Linked DNA regions of Homo sapiens: all the other regions are linked to region 3. Evidence: promoter capture Hi-C in 16 types of primary human blood cells and fetal thymus (Javierre and others, 2016). All regions are on one chromosome and are shown on one strand. The core of a region is centred on a gene start or on the middle of the fragment in contact, and the rest is flanking DNA. Distances in the headings are between cores, read along the strand shown. Region 1 overlaps XIRP2 (xin actin binding repeat containing 2). Region 2 overlaps XIRP2 (xin actin binding repeat containing 2). Region 3 holds the start of SCN7A (sodium voltage-gated channel alpha subunit 7). Region 4 overlaps XIRP2 (xin actin binding repeat containing 2).

Region 1 (2,755 bases), core at 224-2,723, 710 kb before region 3:
TTCCCATTTTAGTGTTGAGGAAGTAACACTCAGAAGATAATATCATATAGCAAGTAGCTGAACCCGGAGTTGATTTCAAGTATTTCTGCATACAACTTTCAACTCTACACAGTCTCTTACGTAAATATATTTTCATTAAAATATAACATTTTTATTTCAAGGTAAATTTTTAATTAAGGGTATGAAACTCTTTTCTGCTTCCTAAAATATATGCACTTAAATCCTTTCTAGACATTGACTTCAGCATAATCTAAGGATAAATCAAAGGGAAATAAATAAGCTGAATTTCCACAGCTATCAGTGGCTGTTTTTCATTATTACAAGCTTGAGTTTAGAATTAGAAATCAAAGCAAATTCCTCAGCTATATTGCTTTGGTCACCATAGAGATCAAACTTAAGAAGGGGTTAGGGATAGGTCCAGTTGAACAGAGAAGGGAATAAACTTAACTGCAAGGAAGGGAAAATGCAAAGCAGGGGCCACTGGTCTCATTTTCAAGTGATCTACTGTGCTCCAGGGGATGGGAGGTGGTGTCGCGCTTTCATCCAAATGTCCCCTTGTCTAAATCCGCATCACAGGTATATACTGAAGGTATATGGTACCGTTCCTGCCCTTCCTTCCCCTTCCTTCCTTCCTTCCTTCTTTCCTTCCTTCCTTCCTTCCTTCGTTCTTTCCTTCCTTCCTTCCCTCCCTCCCTCCTTCCTTCTTTCCTTTCTCCCTCTCTCTTTCTTTCTTTCTTTCTTTCTTTCTTTCTTTCTTTCTTTCTTTCTTTCTTTCTTTCTTTCTTTCTTTCTTTCTCTCTCTCTCTTTCTTTCTCTCTCTCTCTCTCTTTCCCTCCCTCCCTCTCTCTCTCTCTCTTTCTTGACAAAGCCTCACTCTGTTGTCTAGGTTGGAGTGCGGTGGCATGATCTCGGCTCACTGCAACCTCTGCATCCCAGGTTCAAGCAATTCTCCTGCCTCAGCCTCCCTAGTAGCTGGGATTACAGGCACCCGCCACCACACCCGGCTAATTTTTGTAGTTTTAGTAGAGACAGAGTTTCACCATGTTGGCCAGGCTGGTCTCAAACTCCTGGCCTCAAGTAATACAGCTGCCTTGGCCTCCCCATGTGCTGGGGTTGCAGGCGTGAGCCACCACACCCGGCAGGTATATGGTACATTTTCCTCTTAGGGCTTTAGTCCTGCATTCTATAAACATCTACTTCCCAGCTACTGTCGGCTAGGCATGGTTGTCAGACCTGGAGACAAATTAATCACCATTATAGTCAGTCATGCTCCATTTGAAGAGGAAAAAAAAAGAATAACACTAGAAAGATTCTCAAGAAATACAGTATTGATCTGACCTTATTTCTAAAAAGATAAATATAACAGGTTTTATGAATGTATATGACATGTAAAGTGTTCGTTTATCTGTGGTTTTGGCACTAGGCCGTGAACCACCAATTTTTCACTGACAAGCAACATGAAAGTCCACTGGAAATGTAAAGTTCATGAAAATCACTCTAGCACGTTACACTGTAGAGACAGATCTGCTCTTTCCACCCCGCCCCCTTAATGGTTCCTCATGTTTTTTTCCTGCTCTATGTTTTTTAGGTAAAATCATAAAATCGTCATTCAAAGTTACTCACTTTAAAAATTTGCTATGGGACCTTTGAGAAATAGGCTCGGCACAGTGAACACTGGCCGTGACCTAGACCAGCCCAGGTGATCACTAGGCCAGTCTTTAAGTCCCTGCTGCTTTGTGGCAACCTACCAAAGGTAAAGAGAAGGAAACTGTATCCTTCATTGATGATTCATTCTACCGTTACTGTGCTTAGTACCCATGTGTTGAAAAACTCTACATTGTGAGGAAAACCCCTAAATATATTGTTATGTTTGGTTAGTTTGAATACGCATCTCCTTTCTATTTAATTTCATTACTCATTCTATTTAAACTAGTTGCTATCCTATTCTTTCTAAAGTCTCTGTTTTAGAAAATCCAAAAATTTCATATCATTCTACATAATTCTGTTTCTTACAGAATTGCTACCTCTTTGACATAACTTTTTTTTCTGACCCTAATTTTCTAATGTATCCCTTTTTCATTCCTACCGCTTCATTTGTGCTTTTCCTTTTCCCAAACTTCCTTGTGATTCTCAGCTTTCCAGATCCTCCTTTATGTGTGGTTTAGTTACTAAGGGTCTGTGCCCTTGTGGCGAGAATGTCATCTTCTTTCTGGTTGTCTAAGCTGGAATGAAAACTTGAGAAACAGCAAGCAAATGTGCTCACCCCTCAGCCATGGAGAGACGGTAGGCAGGCTCAGTCTATGATTAATAGAAAGTGTGCGTGCCTCTGAGGGACTGGTTAAAATATCCACTAGTGCCCCTAAAACAATTATGGCCTCCAGAATACACAGAAAGTGATTTAATTCTGGGTCAAAGCAGTGCATTGGTAGATGGGGATGACCTGTGCATACTAGCTTAAAATCTTTTTCCTCAAATGATCAACCCTTTCTTTCATAGGCTTTGTAAAATTCCATATGAAGCTGGGTCATGTGTAGTGAACTGTTTTGTTTAATTCCAAGTATGCTGTTGGCATTCAACAGAGCAAAAAATACGCCAAGGTAATGTAATGGAGATTAAGCTTTAATAATCTGTGGCTTTGAAAAGTGTCTTCCTGGCAGGCTTATCTTTAAGTTGTTTGAATGTACACAGAGGTAGGAATGTTAATCATTTACTGATTATTACCTTAAATCATTTTTGTGCTAAAAGCATTCTGTAG
Region 2 (2,996 bases), core at 28-2,527, 690 kb before region 3:
GGGACAACTGTAGTTCAGTCATCTGATATGTAATTCTGACCCAATGGGGCCCATCTAAGGTTTTTAGAATTAAAGAGCAAACATATGAATATGAAAGTTTCATATTATTAGCTAGCATACACAAAACACTAGCCCACCAATTAGGATTTGGCAATCTGCTTTGACCCTTGTAGGTAGCATGACCCATTGACCCATTCAAGTGTCATGTAAGCATAATTAGGGTATTAGTAATTGAATTGCAGTTAAATTTAATCAGGTATAATTTACACTTGTCCAAGTTTAATTCCATTAAAATTATATCATGGTATTAATAAAGTATGAATAAGGTCTTTGGGCATATGACTCATATTTAAATCATATCTCATAGTGTTAAGTAGAGCGACCGTGATAAATTTATCATGCAAGCCAGGGGGCTTTGGGGAGTGAAGAAAGCACCATTAATAACTATGCCAACATAATGGCATAAGCTGGGATGGTCCAGGGGAAACAGGGATGCATAAACACCTGACCAATGAGCCAAATGTGGACCGTCTTGACTCACCACTGGAGCACACACTGAGTAGGATTTCTAATGATCTGGCTCCCAATATAAAAAATAAAAGTAAAACTGTTCTTTACTAGTTACGTCAGTGTTTAAAGGATCATCTCTGTCCTATAAATATAATTTTGATCAGACATATCCCTTACAATAAAGACAGGAATGAATGAAAGAACTATAGAGAATCAATGATATTTGTTCTGGAGGAAAAAAGGTAAGGTATAATAAGGAAGCTTCCTTGTTAAAAAAAATGGTGCAGGTCCAGATGTTCTTGATAGGCTTCTTGTCAACCTTCAATTAAAATAATTTAAAAAATAAAAAATAACATTAATTACTAATAATGAGAGAGAGACAGTAAGAATTTGAAGAAAAACAAGAATTTGAAGAAGACAAAGAGGAAGAGGAGTTGGAGAAGATATGCTGAAATTCGTACAGAATTTCCAATTGTGGTTATCTTTGTGAGCAACAAACGTGAATCACAGTTTTGGATGACATACTGCATAGGACAAACTCTGAGTCAGAGAAGAACAAATAGTTTCCCCAAATAATAGAGAGAGGCTTGGACTCACTCCACAGTCTAAGTTTGCTTTGACCAAAACTAGGTGGGCTCACCAATTCCGTGTAAACATCTTCTGGACCAGCCCAAGCCACAGCCCTGCCTCTGCTACACCCCTACCCCATCATTATATACCTATGCACACACCATGTCTCTCAAGAGAAAAGGAAAAGATAGGGATGTGTTGTTAGGTTTTTAAGGGAACAATGCTTTAGAGAAGGGATGGTGGAACTCTGTAATATTTCATGGTTTGTACCATACAAAAGGAAGTTTACACATTGTATCTGAAAACACAAGTTAGGATTGTAAGGTATAGGATAGAAGTCATAATTCTATTCAGCAACTTTGCACAGTATCAGTAATTCAAGATTTTAGATATAATTCAGAAGGAAAAGAAAAATCAATGGGAGAAATTACAGGATCCAAGTATTTAGTGATGGCACAATAAGAAAAATGTACTCATCTTATTGAAAGGAAATGGTGGACCTCAGTCAATGAAGACCCAATGCAAGTGAAGTAAGTGGACAAGGTAGAATAAAGAGGCACTGCTCAACAATGGTAAGGGACAGTGACTGAATGAGGCACAGAACTGATCAAGTTTATTAGTTTATTCCAAAATACCTGAAAAAGTCACAAAGATACAAGCTACATTCTTGATGTGCTCAAAAAGATTCAGGGAGAGAAGCTTCTATGAAAGTGGATTAGCTGTTATTAAGGAGACAATAAAATGAAATAAAATAACGAAAACAGTGAAGACTAAAATAGACTGCAAAAAATGCAAAATTCAACAGAAAAATTAAAATGGCACTTGATACAGAAAAGAGCACATATAAAAATGAAATTCAATCAATGTAATGGGGAAAATTTTGAGAAATTTTTCCATAACACAGGAGCAAAATCAAAGAGATGAAAATGAAGACCTAGATAAGGATTAATATGAAGGAAGAGGTATGATCAAAGAAACATAACTGTTTCAGAGGAGGAAAGAGCAAAATAGCACAGAAATAAATATTAAATTTAAAAGGAAAGAAAAAGTTTTTGAGGTGAAGTAAGATCTGAGATGACAAAACCAAAGGCTCAAGACATCTGGATATGCCCTTATAAATTTTTGAATTTTAAAGATTAAAAAGTAATGAATAAAGAAAAAAGACAACTGATCTCAGAGTTCTTCAGTAAGATACGCACTATGAAACAGTGGAATATTAAGTGAAAGGTGTTTCAAGTTTGTTTGTTTTTGTAATGGACATAGATTTGAACAGATAACTCTATTTGTAGACAACTTTCTGTTATTTATGTATGAAGAATATAGAGGCATATTTTAGAATATATAAAAAATTTCTGATCAGGTGCAGTGGCCCATGCCTGTAATCCAGTACTTTGGGTGTGTGGGGCGAAAGGATGACCTGAGCCCAGGAGTTTGAGAAGAGCCTAGACAACATAGGGAGATCCTGTCTCCACAAAAACACACACACACACAAATTTAGGCCAGTGCAGTGGCACATGCCTATAGTCCCAGCTACGTTAGAGGCTGAGGTAAGAGCATCTCTTGAGCTCTGAAGTCAAGGCTGCAGTGAGTAGTGATCATGCCACTGCACTCCAGCTTGGGCAACAGAGCAAGACCCTGTCTCAAAAAAAAAAAAAAAATTATCAGATAAAGAAAATGATTAGGCTGGGTGCGGTGGCTCACGCCTGTAATCCCAGCACTTTGGGAGGCCAAGGTGGGCAGATCATGAGGTCAGGAGTTCGAGAGCAGCCTGGCTAATACGGTGAAACCCTGTCACTACTAAAGATACAAAAAATTAGCCAGGTGTGGTGGTGCACCCCTGTAATCCCAGCTACTCAGGAGGCTGAGGCAGAAGAATCGCTTGAACCCGGGAGGTGGAGGTTGCAGTGAGCCGAGAT
Region 3 (3,083 bases), core at 458-2,957:
GAGAATTAAAACATCGAGTCCATCCACACTTCTGACACTGACATCTCTGAGGTCACAATAAACAGCTCCCATTTAAACAGACTGAAAGGAAGCTAATGCCCACAGTGGCGTATCGAGTTCAAGTGTAGTGTGATACAGCCAGCTTCTCTCCTGACACAGAAGAGTATGTGGGGTCTAGAGCTCCCACCTACTGAATACATACTTAGAAAGTAGAGTTTAGAAATATGCTTATAAAGTTCTTAAGGCAGAAATGTTGAAAACAGACCCTCCACTATGTAGTTCCTCCTGCTGAGAAACTCAGTGGGGGAGGAAGGATCCTCAGCTCATTATTAGGGGCACGATAATTGCCAAAACTTTTCAGATCCAACCTGGTAATATTACATAACCGTTATATAACCGTAGTGCCAAATATTTGTCCCAAAACAAATATTTGTTCCAAAACAAGAAAATGGCTAGCTAACTCAGAATATAAAACCAACACCATTAGTTTCCCATCTATTTGCCTCTCATTTATGTGATTGGTTTGTACAATATCTTGGGATCAACTGCCTGTTCATTACACATTATAAAAAGCAGTACTTCTTTTTATTTATTTTAAATATCACATGGAAACTTTGAAATATTTGATATTAAGTTCATTAAATTTATATTGTGTTTGAATGTACAGAAAGGTGTGTAGAATTTTACTGGGTGAAAAGGGATATATGTGTCAGACTGCTCTAAGGGAAGGTTTTATGCTCTAGAAAATTCATTTGCATCATCACCAGAGTGTGGAGAAGAGAAGCCTGCAGTCAGTCAATTGTCCATTATAAAGAAATCAAGTGAATGTTTGATGCTACAAAATAATTATTGCTAATTATAGATGTGATCAGGGTATTGAGTTAAAATCTTAAGTTCTTACCATTCAGAGACATATGCTGATATATTTTTGAAGTAAGTGATGTGATGTGTGCATAAAATAGGGTTACAAAATGAAGGTTCTATGGTGTGGCCTTTGGGAAGAAGGTGCAACCCCTCTGGCCTTCACTCCCAAACTACACTGTATTGCCGCAGTTTTCTAAAATAAACATAATTTTTCCTCTGTCCCTCGTGTTTCAAATCACTAGAGTGGGAAACTGATCCAGAGTAAAAGCCAGCTCCAGCTGACTCTTGACTCTCCTAAAAACAGCTACACACATACTCACACAACAACAGGATTACAAACTCTTAATTACAGCAATGTCCAGATTTGAATGCTGCAGGCTGACAATTGCCCCTCTAAGTTCTGCTGGGGCACCTAGGCAAGGGGAGAGAGAATACAACTGGAGGTTAAAGAACCAGAGTTTTCTGTCTTCCTCTCCTCTCCCTCATTTTCACTCTCCCTTCCCCCTCAGCTGCACCGCGCTGCTCCTTTTCCTCTCCTCCTTGGATGTTCCCTAGCCCCTTCATTCCTTCACGCTCTGCAGGCCCTCTCCCCTCTACCCCTCCTCATCAGCCCCCCGCTCCTCTTCCTCCCTCCCTTCCCGGCAGCTGCTGGAGGAGACGCCACAGCTGCTGCTGTTACTGCATCTGCAGCAGGTCTCTGTCAATATCACCCGCCCACGCCCGATCTGGATGCTGAAGTCGCTCACTGGCCTGGAGATTAGGGCGGGGGAGAGAGTGGAGTGGCTGGGAGAGGGGAGGGAGGAGTGGAAAGGAGACAAAAACAGCTTCCAAGCAGCGGGCGCGGCTCCACTGGACATCTGGGTAGGAGGGGTCTCTGGGTCAGTGGCTGGAGAGTCGCCCCAGTGAGTCGGTGTCTAACTGGCCATTTAGTGGGGCCCATTTACTGCAGAGCCACAGCTGGTGAGGACAGACGCCAGCCTAACAGCAGCTTCTGTACAACTAGAGCTCAGAAAACCCGAGAGATCCGTGGAGAAAGAGAAGCCCAGGAGGAGGAAAGGGCTCCAAGGAGCCCTGCTCCTGAAGGGTCCCTCAGGCACTGGTGGAGACCTGTCGCTTCGTAGCAAGTAAGTGCCTTTTTCTTGCTGCTGTGTCCAGTCCCAGAATGGTGATAGCCGCTATCCGCTGCCAGCCTTTCCCATCCACTCCCACCTGCCCCATCCCATACACACCCTTAGGGTCCCCAGCAGGAGGACAGAGATTTGAAATTGTGGACGTGCATTAGGAGAGTTACTTCAAGAGTATACTTCAAGAGCAGCCGTGGTCTGTGGGTGTTTGCATGGCATGTGCCGTCAGTTTTCTAATTCCATCAGGTAAGCTTCTGAAACCAACATTCTCTGTTAGTGTAAAATTCTAGAAACCCTATATGACAATGACTTACATTACATGGTACAATGATAGTATAAAATGGAGGAAAGGTTATGCAGATTGTTGTACACTTCTTCTAAGAATCCTATCTCTTATTCTAAATAACAGAGATTTCAAGATTGATTTTCCCAAAGGAATAGATAGTATAAAAGTAGAGGCATTGATGTGATTGGCAGTGGTGTGCTCAGTTTAGTCAGTTGGGCATTTTGGTATTGACTAGATCAACAGAGATTGTTGTTGTTGTTTTTGCATTGTTTTGCTCTATAAAATGCATCTCTTCTGGAGGTTTTCTTTTAGAAGTGATAGTGTGACTGGTTGTGTTAGCTTCAAAACTTAGAACATTGGTCAAAACAAGACAAATGATGAGTGCATGTGGAATGACACACCGATGGGCCCCTTTCATTAACGAAAATGATGGGTTCCAGTTTGGATATTGGACTGAAAAATATCTTGAAATGGGAAAGAGTTTGGGTGGTGCTTCTTGTGGATACTTTACCCCACTGCTGTTCATTCAGGAGAGCAATTTATGGCAAAGTAGAAGGAAAGTGGGCCCTGTAATAAACAGAATCCTGGGCACCATACCTGCTATGACTAGCCTTAATTAAAGATTCTATAATCCAGCTGCTGTTTTTACAAGTAAGACCTATAAGGAGTAATTTGCTGAGGCTACCTGGCAAATCAGTAATTGAGCGGGAAGTCCAATGAACAAGTCTTTGGGATTTAGAACTACAAAACTTGATTTCAATTTTTGTACAAATTAAGCCAATTATTTAACTTGAGTAAGCTTTATTTTC
Region 4 (2,908 bases), core at 213-2,712, 740 kb before region 3:
AATCATTGACAACTGCAGATATAAAAAAAATGCATGGGCACTAATGACAGCTCTTTACCTCTGTGACAAGTCTTTCCATCTATTAGGCATATAGTGGGAATATTCTATGGCTTTCTTATGCACACACTGAGAAATAGGAAGTACCAATTAAACAGTGAAGTAGCAAAGGAGAATGTGCACCTGATCAGAACCAAGGTCCCTATGAGGGGCACCGTGATCATTTCTATAGAATCATGTCTCCGCCTAGAGGCCTACATGCCCGCTGAGGCCTGGGGATGTGCTTTATTTGGCCCACACAGTGATTTTAAAGTTTCGAATTAGGTAACATCTACAAAAATAAAAAATTTTTTCTGCTTTTAAAAACTCTGAAGACATGGTAACACTGTGTTCATATTTTAACATGGCAGAGTCTGGCTTTTAGTTGGGCATATACCTTGTAGTTGGCCACCATCACTATCACTTGCTAATATTTAAGAGCAAGATGACATTTAAAAAAAAAAGCAACAAAACTTGTCTGGTACCCATGGAAATTTGAGTTTCAGATACCTGCCACCAATCTGAAAGAGTAGAGTTAGTGACATAAATCTCTGTGTTGAGAAAAATGCAAAATATTTGGAATAGAAAAACTGTAAATAAATGTAATTTTGACACATATTTTAAAAGTTATTTTCTGGGACAAACACTTTGTAGTTAATATGTATCTACTTGAGTAAAAACAATCTATGCCTATCATCTGTAAATATGTTTTCTTGTAGGAGATGACACAAAATAAACAGTACAAATGTACATAAATTTTGTTTAAAGTCGTAAGTTTCTACTTCAGCATTTATGTGCTATTTCCAAATAGAACTGTAATTGCCATACTAGTTTGGTATGTTAGCATCAATGCATCAATTTTACTGCCCTCTAGTTACTGTAACTTACATAAAATATTCCTTAAAATATCCCAAGCTTTTGTTTCTACCATTTACTGTTGCATATTTTGCAACTAGTTTAGTTTGGATTTAAAATCTGACTTTCTAATTGTTGGTGTCTATAGAGTATAGGGTTAGGTAGAAAGCTGGATCATCGTAATGCTCAGGCAGAAATCAAATTAAATAAAATGTTATAAACAACTCTGTTCGGGTCACCATTCATAAATTCACACCAATAATTCATAAAATTGGTTGCTGAAAATTAAATTTAAATATAGACCAGTCTGCAAGAGACAAATGTTATTTTGTTCACAGGTCAATTAACCAGTATTCAGGAATGGGAGATTAGTCCTAACTCTTTCCTTTACTAGGTATGTTATAATCTTGGGAAAAATCATGAAGTCACACTTAAACTCATGTCTTTCATCTCATGAGGCATTAAAGGAAAGAAAAAGAGATGATGTATATGCTCTAACTTTGAAATCTAAAAAAGAAAATGCAGTACAACAGCAAGACAATATTATGGTGTTTGCATAGCTCACATCAGTCTGATGTCAGCTTATATATTAACCAACTATATCACAAAAATCTATTGTTGATATGCACATCTTCTAAGGAGATTTCTCCTGCACAGGAAGCAGTTCGTATCCTGCCTATTCAACTTTTCATTCTTATATCATTATAGGGAAAGACATTGTAAATTTCCCAATAAAATTGCAAACTCATTCTAGTGCAATGAGTAAGGAAAAAGGACAGGCTTTAAAAAAACTTTTTTTTTTATGGCGACTCACTATTATTGTGACTCTTGGAAGTATATCCAATAGAAAAACCTATGGGGAAAGACTGGCAGAATAGTAGAGGGTAACTGTCTCACTAGAGTGGAAAAAACGGAAGTTCATGTTCAATGCCAGTAATACAGCATTTTTACTAATCTCATTTTTAATAAAACTAGAAACAGTTATGATATATTAATGTTATTTACATCTTTGTCAAACAGACATAAACAATACCAAAAACAGGCTGTTCATGTGAGCAAAAATGTCAGTGGATTCAAGCTTTGAAAGAATAATCAGTTCATTTTTTCTTTTAAGTGATGAGCATAGCAATTTGTGGGTGACCATTGTGATTGTCTGGATTTAGATACATTAAAATTCAAACATTGAATTTTTTCCTTTTGCCCTGAGGTTTCTCTTTTTATTTTTATTAATTTTCTCTTAAAAATTACAATATGCAACTTGACATCTCTAAGGTGTGAGCTTTATGTAAAGGCTTTTCCACATTCATTATACCCTCTTAAAGACTTAGCTCAAAAATTACTTTCTTTTTGAAACCTTTCCTGACTTCTATACAGGGTGCACTATTCTTGCTTTTTCTATTCCTGTGATATTAGCACACATCTGTATTATCTACCTATCACATTTCATAGTCATCATTTGCTAATATGATTCTCTCCTTTAACAGAACTCTGTCTATCACATGCATCCTCAAATCCCAATGATTAGCTTCCAGGTACACAGTAGATAGCCAATAAAATGTCAAGGAGTAAATACATGGGTAAATACAGTAGTCACTTTTTTTTAGTAGTGTGAAAATTTTATAATTTTTAATCTGCTTTCAAAATTGAGATTCCAAATTCTTCCATATAAACCTATGATTTTTTTTGTTGTTGTCATTTTGGTTGGTCATCCCTTTCACACTAGCAATAATATATCAATCACTTTACAAAGTGCACTCAGAAAGAGGAGTCTCTTCACAGATGTTCATAGATCAGAACATCTATGGAAAAATATGTGCAGTTCTGTGATGCTGTAAAGGGTAGCTGACACCATCAGAGCAAGAAGAAGTCTGTACCAAGAAAGCAATAAATACACTAGAAGCCCAGATCCCACCATTATGCAATATATCCATGTAACAAACATGCACATGTACCCTCCTGAATCTAAAATAAAAAATCTGTGTACAAAGAGAGCAAACACATACACAGAGGTAAGGAT

Evidence for each region. Contacts are between HindIII fragments. The CHiCAGO score rates a contact against its expected background, and 5 or more counts as called.
Region 1: a contact is called between a fragment that was not itself captured here and the fragment with the promoter of SCN7A in region 3, in 1 of 17 cell types (fetal thymus). The highest score is 5.3, in fetal thymus.
Region 2: a contact is called between a fragment that was not itself captured here and the fragment with the promoter of SCN7A in region 3, in 1 of 17 cell types (fetal thymus). The highest score is 5.1, in fetal thymus.
Region 4: a fragment that was not itself captured here is called in contact with the fragment with the promoter of SCN7A in region 3 in 1 of 17 cell types (fetal thymus); the score reaches 7.7 in fetal thymus.

The regions. Positions count from the first base shown.
Region 1 is chr2:167,199,230-167,201,984 of GRCh38, reverse strand. The region is part of intron 3 of XIRP2 (xin actin binding repeat containing 2); the gene reads right to left. Among named protein-coding and RNA genes, the nearest start is that of XIRP2-AS1, 60 kb to the right of the region's middle. The HindIII fragment of the contact is 2,293 bases long and covers 327-2,619 here.
Region 2 is chr2:167,179,385-167,182,380 of GRCh38, reverse strand. The region is part of intron 3 of XIRP2 (xin actin binding repeat containing 2); the gene reads right to left. Among named protein-coding and RNA genes, the nearest start is that of XIRP2-AS1, 40 kb to the right of the region's middle. The HindIII fragment of the contact is 1,008 bases long and covers 774-1,781 here.
Region 3 is chr2:166,492,873-166,495,955 of GRCh38, reverse strand. It overlaps SCN7A (sodium voltage-gated channel alpha subunit 7), which reads left to right and starts at 1,707. Exons shown (of 26, transcript NM_002976.4): 1 at 1,707-1,988. The HindIII fragment of the contact is 2,984 bases long and covers 1-2,241 here.
Region 4 is chr2:167,235,026-167,237,933 of GRCh38, reverse strand. All of the region lies in intron 5 of XIRP2 (xin actin binding repeat containing 2), which reads right to left. Among named protein-coding and RNA genes, the nearest start is that of B3GALT1, 57 kb to the left of the region's middle. The HindIII fragment of the contact is 1,018 bases long and covers 954-1,971 here.